Linked DNA regions of Homo sapiens: all the other regions are linked to region 2. The links are contacts of gene promoters, found by promoter capture Hi-C in blood cells and fetal thymus (Javierre and others, 2016). All regions are on one chromosome and are shown on one strand. The core of a region is centred on a gene start or on the middle of the fragment in contact, and the rest is flanking DNA. Distances in the headings are between cores, read along the strand shown.

Region 1 (2,700 bases), core at 74-2,573, 320 kb after region 2:
ATATTGAACCATTGTTACCTATTAAAAAGGTAGGTTCAACTGAGTATATAATCTGCCATTGAGGAAAGACTTCAAAAACTGTTATATTTTCCTAATAAGCATTTATTTAGCACCTACTACATACTTAATTAAATATTTAATGTGTAATTCTAAGGAATGTGTCATTTAATTCTCCTTTGATATATAGTTATTAGCATTGTTCCTAGGACTTGGACTCCCTCAGGAGCTTCCTAAAATCTTATTTATTCTATCCCAGACTGAGGCCATCCCATATTTCTTGTGCTCTATGACATTTACAGATTGGATGTCACCAGATGGATTCTCAAAGCACCATGGAAAAAAGCTGGAGGACAAGCACTTGACGGAAGCTCATCCAGAGGCTTGGCCTCTGGTTTAATCCCAAAGATTCCTCTCACAGAACCACCATCTGTTAGAGATAAAAATTTCTAAATAGGTGTAGGCTATCCTCAGGACCTCCAAATGGCTTCCAGGCTGGAAATTATTTCTAGCCCTACTATGGGTTTCAGAACAGAATTGAATTTAAGTGGCCAAGGATGGGTGGATGTGAGGATGGAGACCCCAATATCAAGCTGTATTCCCAGAGATCTTTCTCACTGAGGGTCATCTAGGATATTTAAATAGCCTGGGGCCTCTTTATCTAGCCAGGTCCCAATGCCACCACCCTGCTCCCTGGTCACACTGGGAGCACACTTCTACCAACCCCGCTTTAGGTTTTGTCTTTTCAGGGCCCTACTTAGCAATTGCCTTCTTTTGGGCTATAATAAATACCAGATTAGAGCACACAACCTGGGTATTTGTCCTAACTTTTTCTGTGAGCAATAGTGTGACCTTAAGCACCAACTTAATTTCCCCTAGCTTTGCTTGCCTGACTTATAAAACAATGAAAATATGTATATATCAATCTAAAGAAATAATGCAATCTTTTCCAAACCATAGTATGTGTATTACTCATAATATATGAGATGATTTATACGGTTTATGGTCAATATCTTTGTCTTGACTACTTTTATCTTCTTTTTAAGAGAAGGCAAATGGTTTTTTATTTATATAATGTTACCTTTGAAAAAAGTATATGTTTTCTAAGATCTAAATTGATTTAAATAAAAATATTAATAAAATTACAAGGAGTACACGGATATGGCAAAACAACTTGTAAAGGAAGTTGATGTATTAGAAACACTGAATTAACATATGTTGTACTTGTCGATATAAGAAAACTTATCAGCTATTCATGGGGGGGCATCTGGCCATTCCAGCACTACATTAGAAAAGGAGGTACATACCTGAATTATCCATATGTCCACTTATATTTTTGAAATTTACCAGTTAAATGCTTCACTTCCCTTTTCCCTTTGCCAGTGTATATAGTCCCAGAGCATGCAAAGTACTGCTACTGCAAACTTTCTTAGACTTCACAAATCACATCCCATCACTGCCTTCCTGTGGCTTTTAGTCCCCAACATTTTCCAGCATAAACTCTTTTCCTTCATCATCACCTGAGCTATAATCACCTCATCTCACCTTCCTCTAACCACTCAGGATTCATGTCAGCCTAGTTAGCACTTGGCTCACCCAACCTTGTCTGTTCTGCCACTGCTACCTTGCACACAACCAATTGTTTCTTCAAGATCTATTTCAAAGCCCACTTATGTCCTGAAATCTAGCTAACTACATGACTTCCAGATGTATTTATCTACCTTCTAAGTCTTTGGCATTGAATATAGTGTGTTTTGTCTAGGCTTGCATAGAAGAAAAGAAGATTAGAAATTACAGTGATGGATAATGAATACTGTGATAAAGATGTTATGCATTGTTGTGGAAGAAGTAGAACAGAAAGGTCTTAAGAGTACAGACTCTGAAGTCAGACTGTCTGGGTTTCATTCTGGCATGCCACTTGCCACTTGAAGAAATTATTCAGCCTCTCTGAGTCTCCTGGTCTCATTTGAAACTGCAGCTACTAATAGTTGCTACTTCATAAGGTTATTGTGAAGATTAAATGAGCTAGTATAGGGAAGCGCTTGGGCCAATGCCTGAAATATTGGTTATTGTTACATGCAGAGGGTACAAATGGCAACATATAAGAGGTGTCCCCAAACAGAGTTCTAACCAAGAGGCAGTCTGGAGAAAATGGTGTTTGAGTTTATTATTGCAGGACAGGTAGGAGTTAGTCAAGTGTGTGTGCTTGTGTGGGCCTGGGGTATTACAGTGAGGGTGGATTAGGCAGTGAGTACCGCAGTCACACAATCATACCATCATAAAAGTGGGGATGGAAACAAGGAGTAAAAGAGCATGGCATATTATAGAAGTGCAGGGGACATTTCTAGTGCAAGGGTCCAGGGGTAGGCAGTAATGAAACACAAGGCCACACATTTGAGGCAAGTCATAGGAAGGCTTTGCACACCGCACTAAGAAAAAAAAAGTATTTGAGTGCCTGCTATGTGCCAGATGCTGTTTTATTTTGGAGACTGGGTACCACAGTGAAAAATGCATAGCCTCTATATTTGGCATGGCCTAACTGAAAAGATAAATACATAATTAAATGATAACATGATAAATGCTTAATTGAAGATGTAACAAGCACTATGAAAGCACAATGCCTAAGTTTGTTTTTCCCAGAGACATAAGCAACATCTTAACAGATAGGTAAATGTTCACCAAACAACAGGCAAGCAATCAGAA
Region 2 (2,700 bases), core at 181-2,680:
TAGGCAACAGCCAAGAGAGGCGCTCAGTTGCTTTGCACCCTCCTCCCACCTCGGTTCTGTCCACACCCACGGGCGCCCCGCCCCCTCGGCCTTATAAAGGGGACTCGGCACCTCCGCGCGCCTCGCCACCAGAGGTTTCCCAGAGAGGAAGGCGTGGCTCCCTCCCGGGCCAGTGAGCCCTGGCGCCGCCGCGGCCGCGGTCCCAGCAGCGGAGTAGGGCGGCGGCTGCGCCCCGCACCATGGGGGGCAGCCCAGCCCCAGCCGCGGTAAACGCCGACCTCCGCCGCCGCCCGCGCCGCGTCTGCCCCCTCCCGCTGCGGCTCTCTGGACGCCATCCCCTCCTCACCTCGAAGCCAACATGAAGGAGACCCGGGGCTACGGAGGGGATGCCCCCTTCTGCACCCGCCTCAACCACTCCTACACAGGCATGTGGGCGCCCGAGCGTTCCGCCGAGGCGCGGGGCAACCTCACGCGCCCTCCAGGGTCTGGCGAGGATTGCGGATCGGTGTCCGTGGCCTTCCCGATCACCATGCTGCTCACTGGTTTCGTGGGCAACGCACTGGCCATGCTGCTCGTGTCGCGCAGCTACCGGCGCCGGGAGAGCAAGCGCAAGAAGTCCTTCCTGCTGTGCATCGGCTGGCTGGCGCTCACCGACCTGGTCGGGCAGCTTCTCACCACCCCGGTCGTCATCGTCGTGTACCTGTCCAAGCAGCGTTGGGAGCACATCGACCCGTCGGGGCGGCTCTGCACCTTTTTCGGGCTGACCATGACTGTTTTCGGGCTCTCCTCGTTGTTCATCGCCAGCGCCATGGCCGTCGAGCGGGCGCTGGCCATCAGGGCGCCGCACTGGTATGCGAGCCACATGAAGACGCGTGCCACCCGCGCTGTGCTGCTCGGCGTGTGGCTGGCCGTGCTCGCCTTCGCCCTGCTGCCGGTGCTGGGCGTGGGCCAGTACACCGTCCAGTGGCCCGGGACGTGGTGCTTCATCAGCACCGGGCGAGGGGGCAACGGGACTAGCTCTTCGCATAACTGGGGCAACCTTTTCTTCGCCTCTGCCTTTGCCTTCCTGGGGCTCTTGGCGCTGACAGTCACCTTTTCCTGCAACCTGGCCACCATTAAGGCCCTGGTGTCCCGCTGCCGGGCCAAGGCCACGGCATCTCAGTCCAGTGCCCAGTGGGGCCGCATCACGACCGAGACGGCCATTCAGCTTATGGGGATCATGTGCGTGCTGTCGGTCTGCTGGTCTCCGCTCCTGGTAGGTAGTTCCAGGGTTGGGGGAAGTCAGGATGCGTGTGCGAGTAAGCGGGAACCTAAGACTTTGCTAAGTGGCAGCACCCGCAGGGGTGTGTTTGCAACCGCAGAGCGCTGAAGTGTCCTTTCCTCCTGCCCGCGCGGTCTTGGTTACAGCTTCAGAGCTGAGCTCCTCACTTACTAGCTGAGCGCCTTCCAAGAGCCAGGATTCGCATTAGGCACTGTTTATGAGCACATAGAGATCACAGGGCTGCTCACATTCTAGTCGGGTAGGAGACAGGATGTGTCATTGAAATGACATATATGCAGAGCTAGAAGTTTGTCCTGAGTGCATTAAAAGCAGAATTGCTATGATAACTGTAGCCTGATATTGTGGGGTTTTTTTTTTTTTTTTTTTTTGAGACGGAGTCTCGCTCTGTCACCCAGGCTGGAGTACAGTGGCGCAGCCTCGGCTCACTGCAAGCTCCGCCTCCCGGGTTCACGCCATTCTCCTGCCTCAGCCTCTCCGAGTAGCTGGGACTACAGGCGCCCGCCACCACGCCCGGCTAATTTTTTTTTTTTATTTTTAGTAGAGACGGGGTTTCACCGTGGTCTCGATCTCCTGACCTCGTGATCCACCCGCCTCGGCCTCCCAAAGTGCTGGGATTACAAGCGTGAGCCACCGCGCCCGGCCGGGTTTTTTTTTTTTAATTTCAAATTCCTCTTTCACGTTAATAAGATTTTCAGTCTGCAACCCCATACAGTCACAGCCCTCCTGCAGCTTCTGAAAGACTGCGCGACCTATGGGTGCCTTCAAGGTTCATTCTTGATGAGGCAGGAGAATGAAAGATACGAGTTGCCTCCTCAGCCTTTCGCCATGGTGCTTGACCCTCTAGGAAGTGCCCGAACGACAGTCAGTGGGATCCGGAAGCTCAGCAGCTTCTTCAGGCCAGCATTTACTTACCCTTGTAGCACTCAAGCAGGGTTCGCTAATCCTGAGATAGGAGGTAGAGGTTTCTCCATGTCCTAGCTCCTCACACCAGAGCAATGCAGAGGAGCAAGGGATGTTTGCAGAGGCTCTTTGCCTAACACCTGCCCTTACGTGATATTTTTGAGGTTTTTTTGTCTGTGTTACTTTTAGCTAGAAATGTCCGTGTGTAAGTGCTGTTTACTAATTCCTGAAGAATGGATGCTTACTTAGGCCCTGGGGTGTCTGGGTTAATAGATGTTGCAGAAAGAGCGATATGGTCACTGTTACAAAGGTATAACCAACTATATGTATTATACAGTTGTGGAAAACCTTTGAAACACGTGAACGCAGTTTTTTTTCTTTCCTAATTATGGTAAAATATATTACATACAATTCAGTATTTTAACCATTATTATGTGTACAGTTCAGTGGCATTAGGCATTAAGTACGTTGAGTTTTTTGTGCGCCATGTATACTTTTAAATCCCTTGCATTTGAAAA
Region 3 (2,700 bases), core at 139-2,638, 390 kb after region 2:
AAGGTTTAAGGACAGGAAAACTGTCTTCTCTGGAAGTAAGAGAAAGGTTGACTAGAAAAATGTAGTAGAATACACGTTTCAATGTTTTATCCATGTCATTAACTTTACATAAGATAGTATGTATTTAGCAAAAAGGTAAAAAAACACCTGAGGATGAACTAAATTCCACCTGTTCCCGTTTCTGAGTAAGCTAGAATGTGAGGGCCATGAAGGAAGGGATTGTTGCCTACTTTGTAAAACAAAAAAAAAATCACTGTGCATAGAACATTGTAGACATAGTAGATGCTCAAGAAACATTTAGTGACTGAATCATGAATGAGGAGGCACTGTATCTCTAGTTTTTGTCATTGCTACAGATGGTCTTCACACTCACAAATATTTACCTTCTCACCTTATCCTAGCACATTTTTATAGCACTTTCCTTATTTATTTTTTAAATACATGGCCATTTTTAAGAAAGCATTTTGTGGTTTACATTCATCTATTTTTCATTCTTCAAAATGTTGTTTTGCAGTATCTAATGGACAGTTTAAAAGCTTCATGAACGAAAAGGCACCTTTTGCCAAAATTAAATGAATGCAAAAGAATGAAAAGTTTGGGTTGAGTTCAAAATTGTAAGCTCCCAAGGAAAATGAATGCACAAAACTTGTGGTTTTCATTTCCCATATTCTTATATTAAACATATGAAATTCAAGAGTTCTGACTGAATTAGAAAAGTTAAAATTTGAGGACAAATTTTCAACGATAAAAATGTTCTAAAGACTCTTAAACCCAAATCTTACTAAATAGCCTGACTAGCAATCGTATTTTTTATGTCAATGTGTTTATTTTTCTACAACAACAGTAAAAATTTTACTAAATCCCAGGCTATCTGTAATTATTTCACAGAAATGAATGGCTCTGTATGTTTGTTGAGAAGAGAACAGAAGATCTGCTACTCTTCAACCACTGGAGGATATTAATCTTACTCTTTCTCATAAAACTGTCTAACAAACATAAGAAAAATATAAAATTTTGCTAGCAAATACAGAAATGCAAGTAAAAGCAATAAGGCAGCATTTTCATCAATTAAAAAGGTAATGAACATCACTATGTATTTAGGTTTTTCATATTGTTATGATTTTCTTAGGATACATTTTTCAGTATGGAATAATTGAATGAAAATCTGGAGACCCAGGGCAGTGGCTCATGCCTGTAATCCCAGCACTTGGGGAGGCCGAAGCGGCAGATCACCTGAGGTCAGGAGTTCGAGACCAGCCTGGCCAACATGGCGAAACCCCATCTCTACTAAAAGTATGAAAATTAGCTAAGCGTGATGTCATGTGCCTGTAATCCCAGCTACTCGGGAGGCTGAGGCAGGAGAATTGCATGAACCCAGGAGGCAGAGGTTGCAGTGAGCGGAGATCGTGCCACTGCACTCCAGCCTGGGCAACAGAGTAAGACACAAAAAGAAAGAAAGAAGAATGAAAGAAAGAAGGAAAGAAAGAAAGAAGAAGGAAGGAAGGAAGGAAGGAAGGAGAAAGGAAGGAAGGAAATCTGGAAATACATAGATAAATTACTTCAGAAAATGTAACAAATTACTATACTGAAAGCACAAATTTTATAACATCTTGCCATCATAGGCTTCTTGTCATATAATTTTTTAAATGTAATATAGTAAAATTTACTCTTTTGGTGTACATTCTATGAGTATTGACAAATGTATAGTGTCATGTAACCACACCACAATCAATATATACAACAATCCGTCACCCCAAAAATGCCTCTTTGTATAGTCAACCCCTTCCCACCCAGCTCCTGGCAACAACTGATCTGTTCTCTGTACTTGTAGTTTGTCTTTTCCCACAATGTCATATAATTGGGCTTATACACTATTAAGCCTTTTGAGCTTGGCTTATTTCACTAACATAAGACATTTGAGATTCTTCCATATTGTTGCATGAATCAATCATTTTTTTCCTTTTATCACTGAGCAGTGTTCCATTTTGCGGATGTACCAAAGTTGAATATCCATTAATCAGTTGAGTTGTTCACAGTCTTTGGTGATTATAAATACAGTCACTGTAAATATTTCCATATGGGTTTTTGTGTGAACCTAAGATTTATTTCTCTTGAGTTAATTGGCACTTTTTAGAAAAATTATTTATCATATTTATTTTATTGCATTTAAGTATCCCTGCTACAAACTCAAGTTTTCCCAGGGGATATTAGTACTCCAGTTGGTGAGAAACATAAGCTTAGGTAAAGTCATATCCAAGATAATTGTACATAAAACTCTGAGCACTTAGTTTAAATTTGGAAAGTGCTAGAGGTACAAAGAAATCCTCAAATATAAAATTAATTGTGAAGCTTTAAATTATTGAGACTAGTTAATGTGCATTTTTTTGTTTTTTAATAAATGACTCCAACTTTCAAAACTTAACTTTGAATGCTTCTGTTGGTTATAGGGAAATATGTAAGAAGGCATAAAAAGTTTTTGAATGTAAAGTTTCCAAAATAACTTGAAATTTGAATGATCAGTGTTAATTTCCAATAATCTTAATTCTAAAAATAAGATAATAATAATTGTCCTTGTCTATAAGAAGTTTACAGATGCACTGGGGAAGTTTATCTTGTGCTTGGAGAGTGAAACAACAATCCAGGACAGAAGGTTAAAAATAACAAACGAGTACAATAGTTAATAAGTACTAATGGAGTTCA
Region 4 (2,700 bases), core at 69-2,568, 450 kb after region 2:
CATCTCACACCAGTTAGAATGGCAATCATTAAAAAGTCAGGAAACAACAGGTGCTGGAGAGGATGTGGAGAAATAGGAACAATTTTACACTGTTGGTGGGACTGTAAACTAGTTCAACCATTGTGGAAGTCAGTGTGGTGATTCCTCAGGGATCTAGAACTAGAAATACCATTTGACCCAGCCATCCCATTACTGGGTATATACCCAAAGGATTATAAATCATGCTGCTATAAAGACACATGCACATGTATGTTTATTGCAGCATTATTCACAATAGCAAAGACTTGGAACCAACCCAAATGTCCAACAATGATAGACTGGATTAAGAAAATGTGGCACATATACACCATGGAATACTATGCAGCCATAAAAAATGATGAGTTCACGTCCTTTGTAGGGACATGGATGAAACTGGAAATCATCATTCTCAGTAAACTGTTGCAAGAACAAAAAACCAAACACTGCATATTCTCACTCATAGGTGGGAATTGAACAGTGAGAGCACATGGACACAGGAAGGGGAACATCACACTCTGGGGACTGTTGTGGAGTGGGGGGAGGGGGGAGGGATAGCATTGGGAGATAGACCTAATGCTAGATGACGAGTTAGTGGGTGCAGCGCACCAGCATGGCACATGTATACATATGTAACTAACCTGCACATTGTGCACATGTACCCTAAAACTTAAAGTATAATAATAATAATAATAATAAAAGAAATCTCATGAATATATAACAAGCTTTTTAGAAATGCTGACTCCCCTATTCTAAAAATGGCTCTGCATTCTCTGGCATCTTCCCATTAATGACTAACATTTTGCTTCTTAATTTCTACAAGGAAATAAACATGGTGGCTCTAGAGCACCAGCATCAAAATCACTCTGAAATTTGACCCTAGAGGGAGAGGCCAGCAAAGGTAGACTCTCTTCCAAAGGGTAATGCACTAATCACTTCTTACTTTATGGTTATTATTATTTTCCTAAACTAGGTTATATAAGAAAAAGAAAAATAAGATTTTTATATTAATATGAAATTACTCTAATATGCTTTTATGCATCATTAAAGTTCTGGGGCTATATCATTACCTCTGGCTTGTAAGCTCCTTCAGCTTCTTTGAACCAGAAAGTCACAGAAAGATTTCTGTGTTGGTTCCCAGAGAGAAAGGTAGTAAGGCCTAGGAAGGACCATGGTCAAAAAGCGTGCTCTCAGGACACATTGAAAAACAAATTCTAGTGGTTAGATCCATTCTCCTGCTCAGGTGCAGTTTTCCTGGTATATGGTCCTCAGCGTGGTCAAGGGTCAAGAGAAATGAGAATCTGGGAGTTGGTGCTTGACAAAGTCATCTCTCACCTGATTTAGTTTGTAATACCAAATAATCATTTACAAAAAATTATTTGAATGCTTTCAATTCATTCTGAGTGACAATATATTTGCATAGATAGGTCTTTTTGTGCAACATTTACACATGTTGCTGTAATGGGGTTTTGGAAAAGAAGTGCTACTTTTCATTACATAAAGGTTAATACCTTCATTAATAAAGGTTAGTGCCATGTCTCAAATTTTTTCTGATAAACCATGCCTAAAAGTGAACTAAAGTAGGCAGTAAAGTTAAACCATCTTTTGCCTCCTGGGACCTAAACATCAATTTTCTGGCACCTCATATTTATTGGTGAAATTACATTAAGTGGCAAAATGTTTGCTTTCTTGGCTTTCACTTGCTTCCTACAATGTAGTGCTGAAGTACTAGATCTCTTAGCCTGCTTTCTTCCTTCTACCAAATCCATTTCTAAGTGTTTCTGGCAGGACTGAAAGGATATAGCAGAGATGATTACTTTCATGCGCGTCGTCCGTATTAAGAGACCACCAAAAAGGCTTTGTGTGAGCAATAAAGCTTTTAATCACCTGGGTGCAGGTGGGCTGAGTCCAAAAAGAGTCAGCGAAGGGAGATAAGGGTGGGGCCATTTTATAGGATTTGGGTAGATAAAGGAAAATTACAGTCAAGGGGGGTTGTTCTCTGGAGGGCAGAGTGGGGGGTCACAAGGTGCTCAGTAGGGGAGCTTTTGAGCCAGGATGAGCCAGGAATTTCACAAGAAAATGTCATCAGTTAAGGCAGGAACAGGCCATTTTCACTTCTTTTGTGGTGGAATGTCATCAGTTAAGGCAGAAACGGGCCATCTGGATGTGTACGTGCAGGTCACAGGGATATGATGGTTTAGCTTGGGCTCAGAGGCCTGACATTCCTGTCTTCTTATATTAATAAGAAAAATAAAATGAAATAGTGGTAAAGTGTTGGGATGGTGAAAATTTTGGGGGGTGGTGTGGAGAGATAATGGGCGATATTTCTCAGGGCTGCTTCGAGCGGGATTAGGGGCGGCGTGGGAACCTAGAGTGGGAGAGATTAAGCTGAAGGAAGATTTTGTGGTAAGGGGTGATATTGTGGGGTTGTTAGAAGAAATATTTGTCGTGTAGAATTATTGGTGATGGCCTGGATATGGTTTTGTATGAATTGAAAAACTAAATGGAATAAGAGAAGGAGAAAAACAGGTATAAAAGGCCTAAGAATTGGGAGGACCCAGGACACCTGATTAGAGAGTGCCTAAGGAGATTCAGCATAGTCCTGCCAGCAAAGATTATTTATTTACTTCAAGAGTTTAGAGTGGCAGTTTGGGGATAGCACCAGGAGATATCAGCTGTGATGGC
Region 5 (2,700 bases), core at 138-2,637, 430 kb after region 2:
CCTTGCTATTTACCCAAATGAACTGAAAACATCTCCACACAAAAACCTGCACACAGATGTTTGCGGCAGCTTTATTCATTACTGCCAAAACCTAGAAGCAATCAAGATGTCCTTCAGTAGGTGAAAAGATAAATAAACTGTGGGACATTTAAACAATGGGATGTTATTCAGTACTGGAAAAAAAAAGAGAGAGTTTTCAAGCCATGAAAAGACATGGAGGAAAATTAAATGCATATTACTAAGTGAAAGGAAGCCAATCCGAAAAGGCTATATGCTGTATAATTCCAACCATATGACATTCTGGGAAAGACAAAACTATGGAGATTGGAAAAGGATAAGTGATTTTTCAGGGGTTAATGAGAGTGGGAGACATGAATGGGCAGAGCACAGAAGATTTTTGGGGCAGTGAAATTATCCTGTATGATACAATGGTGGATCCATGTCATTATGTATTTGTTGAAACCTACCAAATGTGCAATAACAACAGTGAACCCTAATATAGACTATCAACTTCGGGTGATAACGATGTATCAGTGTAGGTTCATCACTTGTAACAAATGTACCACTCAGACGGAGCATGTCAATGGTCAGGGCGAAGCTTGTACATGTGTCAAGACAGGAGGTATGTGAGAACTCTCTGTACTTTTCATTTGATTTTACTGTGAACCTCAAACAGTTCTAAAAAAAAAAAGTTTACTAACTAAAAATAATCCATGGTCTCACATTCTCATTAGCTTCTATTGATGATTTTTTCTTCTGGCAATAGGTCACATTTTCCTGCTCCCTTATATGTTGACTAGCACTAATTATCAATTGCCTTCTGATTATTATGAGTTCTGTATTGCTGAAAGCTTGGATTATGTTGTCTTTAAAGAATCTTGAGATTTTTACTTACTATTTATAATGCTCTTAATTGCTTTTTATATATCCAGATTTCCATCTGCTATCATTTTTCTTTAGCCTGAAAATGTTCTTTTAATATTCCCTGTAGTTTAGGCCTGCTGGTGATGAAATCCCTAAGGAATTTTTTGTCTGAATAAGCCTTTAATTTTGAAGGATGTTTGCCTGATATAAAATGTTAGGTTAAAGGTTTTACTTTTTTTTCTTTTAGCACTAAAGATATTGCTCCATTGTCTCTGGCTTGAATGATTTCTGAAGAGAAATCTGTGGTAATTCTTTTTTGTTCCCCCATATTAACTTTTCTCTGGATGCGTTTAAGTTTTTCTCTTTATTACTGATTTTCAGCTATTTGATTATGATTATCTGTAGTACTGTCTTCTTCCTTTTTTTAATGTAGTTTCCTTAGCTTTTTGAGCCAGCAGATTTATATCAAGGAATTTGGAAATATTCCTACCATTAGTCTTCAAATATTTTTGTATCTCCCATTGTCCTCAGAGAGTTCTAGGACTCAAAGTACATGCATGTCAGACTGTTTAATATTATCCTCTAGTCAGGACCAGCTACATAGTTTGGAGGGCCAGTGCAAAATAAAAATGAGAGACTCTTTATTCAAAAATTGTTGAGAATGTTAAGAGGCAATGACACAGCACTAAACCTAGTGAGGCCCCTCCTGAGTGTGGAGCCTATGTTACTGAAAATGTGCAAGCCTATAAAGGCTGTTCAGAGGTAATTGAGGCTTTTTTCATATTATTTCAGTCTTTTTTTAAAAGTCTTTATCTTGGATAGTTTCTGTTGCTATGTCTTTAAGATCACTTACCATTTTTTCTTCAGTGTCTAATCTGTTGTTTAACTCACCTAATGAATTTTCCATTTGGTTAATTGTATTTTTAGCTCTGTGAGTACCATTTGTTTCTTTTTTACTTTACCCATTTCTTTCCTTATTATATTTATTTGTTCCTATAAAATTTTAATCATATATATGTACTTTCTAAACATATATATATAATTTCTATATAAGCTTTTTCTAATGATTCCATCATCTTTGTCATTTCTTGATCTGTTTATATTGACTGATTTTTCTATTTATTATAGGTCACATTTTTCTGCTTCTTTGAATGTTAACTATCTTTTAGGAGATGCCAAACATTGTGAATGTTATTGCTGTGGTGTGAATGTTTGTTTCCCCACTCCTAAAATTTATATATTGAAATCCTAATTCCCAAGATGATGGTATTAGGAGGTGGGGCCTTTGGGGGTGATTAGATCATGAAGGCAGTGCTCTCATAATTAGGATTAGCACCCTTATAAAAGAGACCACATAGAGCTAGTTAGTCTCTTCCATCATGCAAGGACACAGCAAGAAGTCACCCTTCTATGAACTAGGAAGCAGGCCTTTGTCAGATACAAAATTGGCCAGTGCCTTGATCTTGGGCTTCCCAGCTTTTAGAACTGTGAGAAACAAATGTCTGTTATTTATAAATCACCCAGTTTATGGTATTTCATTATAGCAGTCCTAATAGGCTAAGACAGTCAGGTTGTTGTGTGACTGAATCATATTAAAGGGTGTTGAGTTTTGTTTTGGAAGGCAATTAATTTACTGGCAAGTCAAATTGACAGTGTTGATGCTTTGTTTTAGCTTTACTAGAAAAGATCAGGAGTAGCCCTTATTCTGAGGCTGGAGTAAACCTCTTAAAGTATGGCCTTTCTGGGGTTTCAACTAATGTTTCTGGTGTTCTAGCTGGTCAAAAAACCAATGTTCCTCAGCACTTTGCAACCTATGGAGACTCTTTAGCTCAAAAA

The links. Contacts are between HindIII fragments. The CHiCAGO score rates a contact against its expected background, and 5 or more counts as called.
Region 1: a fragment that was not itself captured here is called in contact with the fragment with the promoter of ZRANB2-AS1 in region 2 in 1 of 17 cell types (M2 macrophages); the score reaches 5.5 in M2 macrophages.
Region 3: a contact is called between a fragment that was not itself captured here and the fragment with the promoter of ZRANB2-AS1 in region 2, in 4 of 17 cell types (megakaryocytes, erythroblasts, endothelial precursors and 1 more). The highest score is 6.7, in megakaryocytes.
Region 4: a contact is called between a fragment that was not itself captured here and the fragment with the promoter of ZRANB2-AS1 in region 2, in 1 of 17 cell types (erythroblasts). The highest score is 5.2, in erythroblasts.
Region 5: a contact is called between a fragment that was not itself captured here and the fragment with the promoter of ZRANB2-AS1 in region 2, in 1 of 17 cell types (erythroblasts). The highest score is 5.1, in erythroblasts.

What each region holds. Positions count from the first base shown.
Region 1 is chr1:70,728,708-70,731,407 of GRCh38, reverse strand. The region is part of intron 5 of LINC01788 (long intergenic non-protein coding RNA 1788); the gene reads right to left. Among named protein-coding and RNA genes, the nearest start is that of LINC01788, 24 kb to the right of the region's middle. The HindIII fragment of the contact is 7,441 bases long and covers 1-2,700 here.
Region 2 is chr1:71,045,236-71,047,935 of GRCh38, reverse strand. It overlaps ZRANB2-AS1 (ZRANB2 antisense RNA 1), which reads right to left and starts at 1,430. Exons shown (of 3, transcript NR_038420.1): 1 at 347-1,430. PTGER3 (prostaglandin E receptor 3) reads left to right here and starts at 120. Exons shown (of 4, transcript NM_198719.2): 1 at 120-1,255. The coding sequence starts at 359. RefSeq lists an enhancer at 123-706. The HindIII fragment of the contact is 6,286 bases long and covers 1-2,700 here.
Region 3 is chr1:70,656,890-70,659,589 of GRCh38, reverse strand. No RefSeq gene overlaps it. Among named protein-coding and RNA genes, the nearest start is that of LINC01788, 48 kb to the left of the region's middle. The HindIII fragment of the contact is 1,700 bases long and covers 539-2,238 here.
Region 4 is chr1:70,593,126-70,595,825 of GRCh38, reverse strand. No RefSeq gene overlaps it. Among named protein-coding and RNA genes, the nearest start is that of LINC01788, 110 kb to the left of the region's middle. The HindIII fragment of the contact is 1,151 bases long and covers 743-1,893 here.
Region 5 is chr1:70,617,972-70,620,671 of GRCh38, reverse strand. No RefSeq gene overlaps it. Among named protein-coding and RNA genes, the nearest start is that of LINC01788, 87 kb to the left of the region's middle. The HindIII fragment of the contact is 1,067 bases long and covers 854-1,920 here.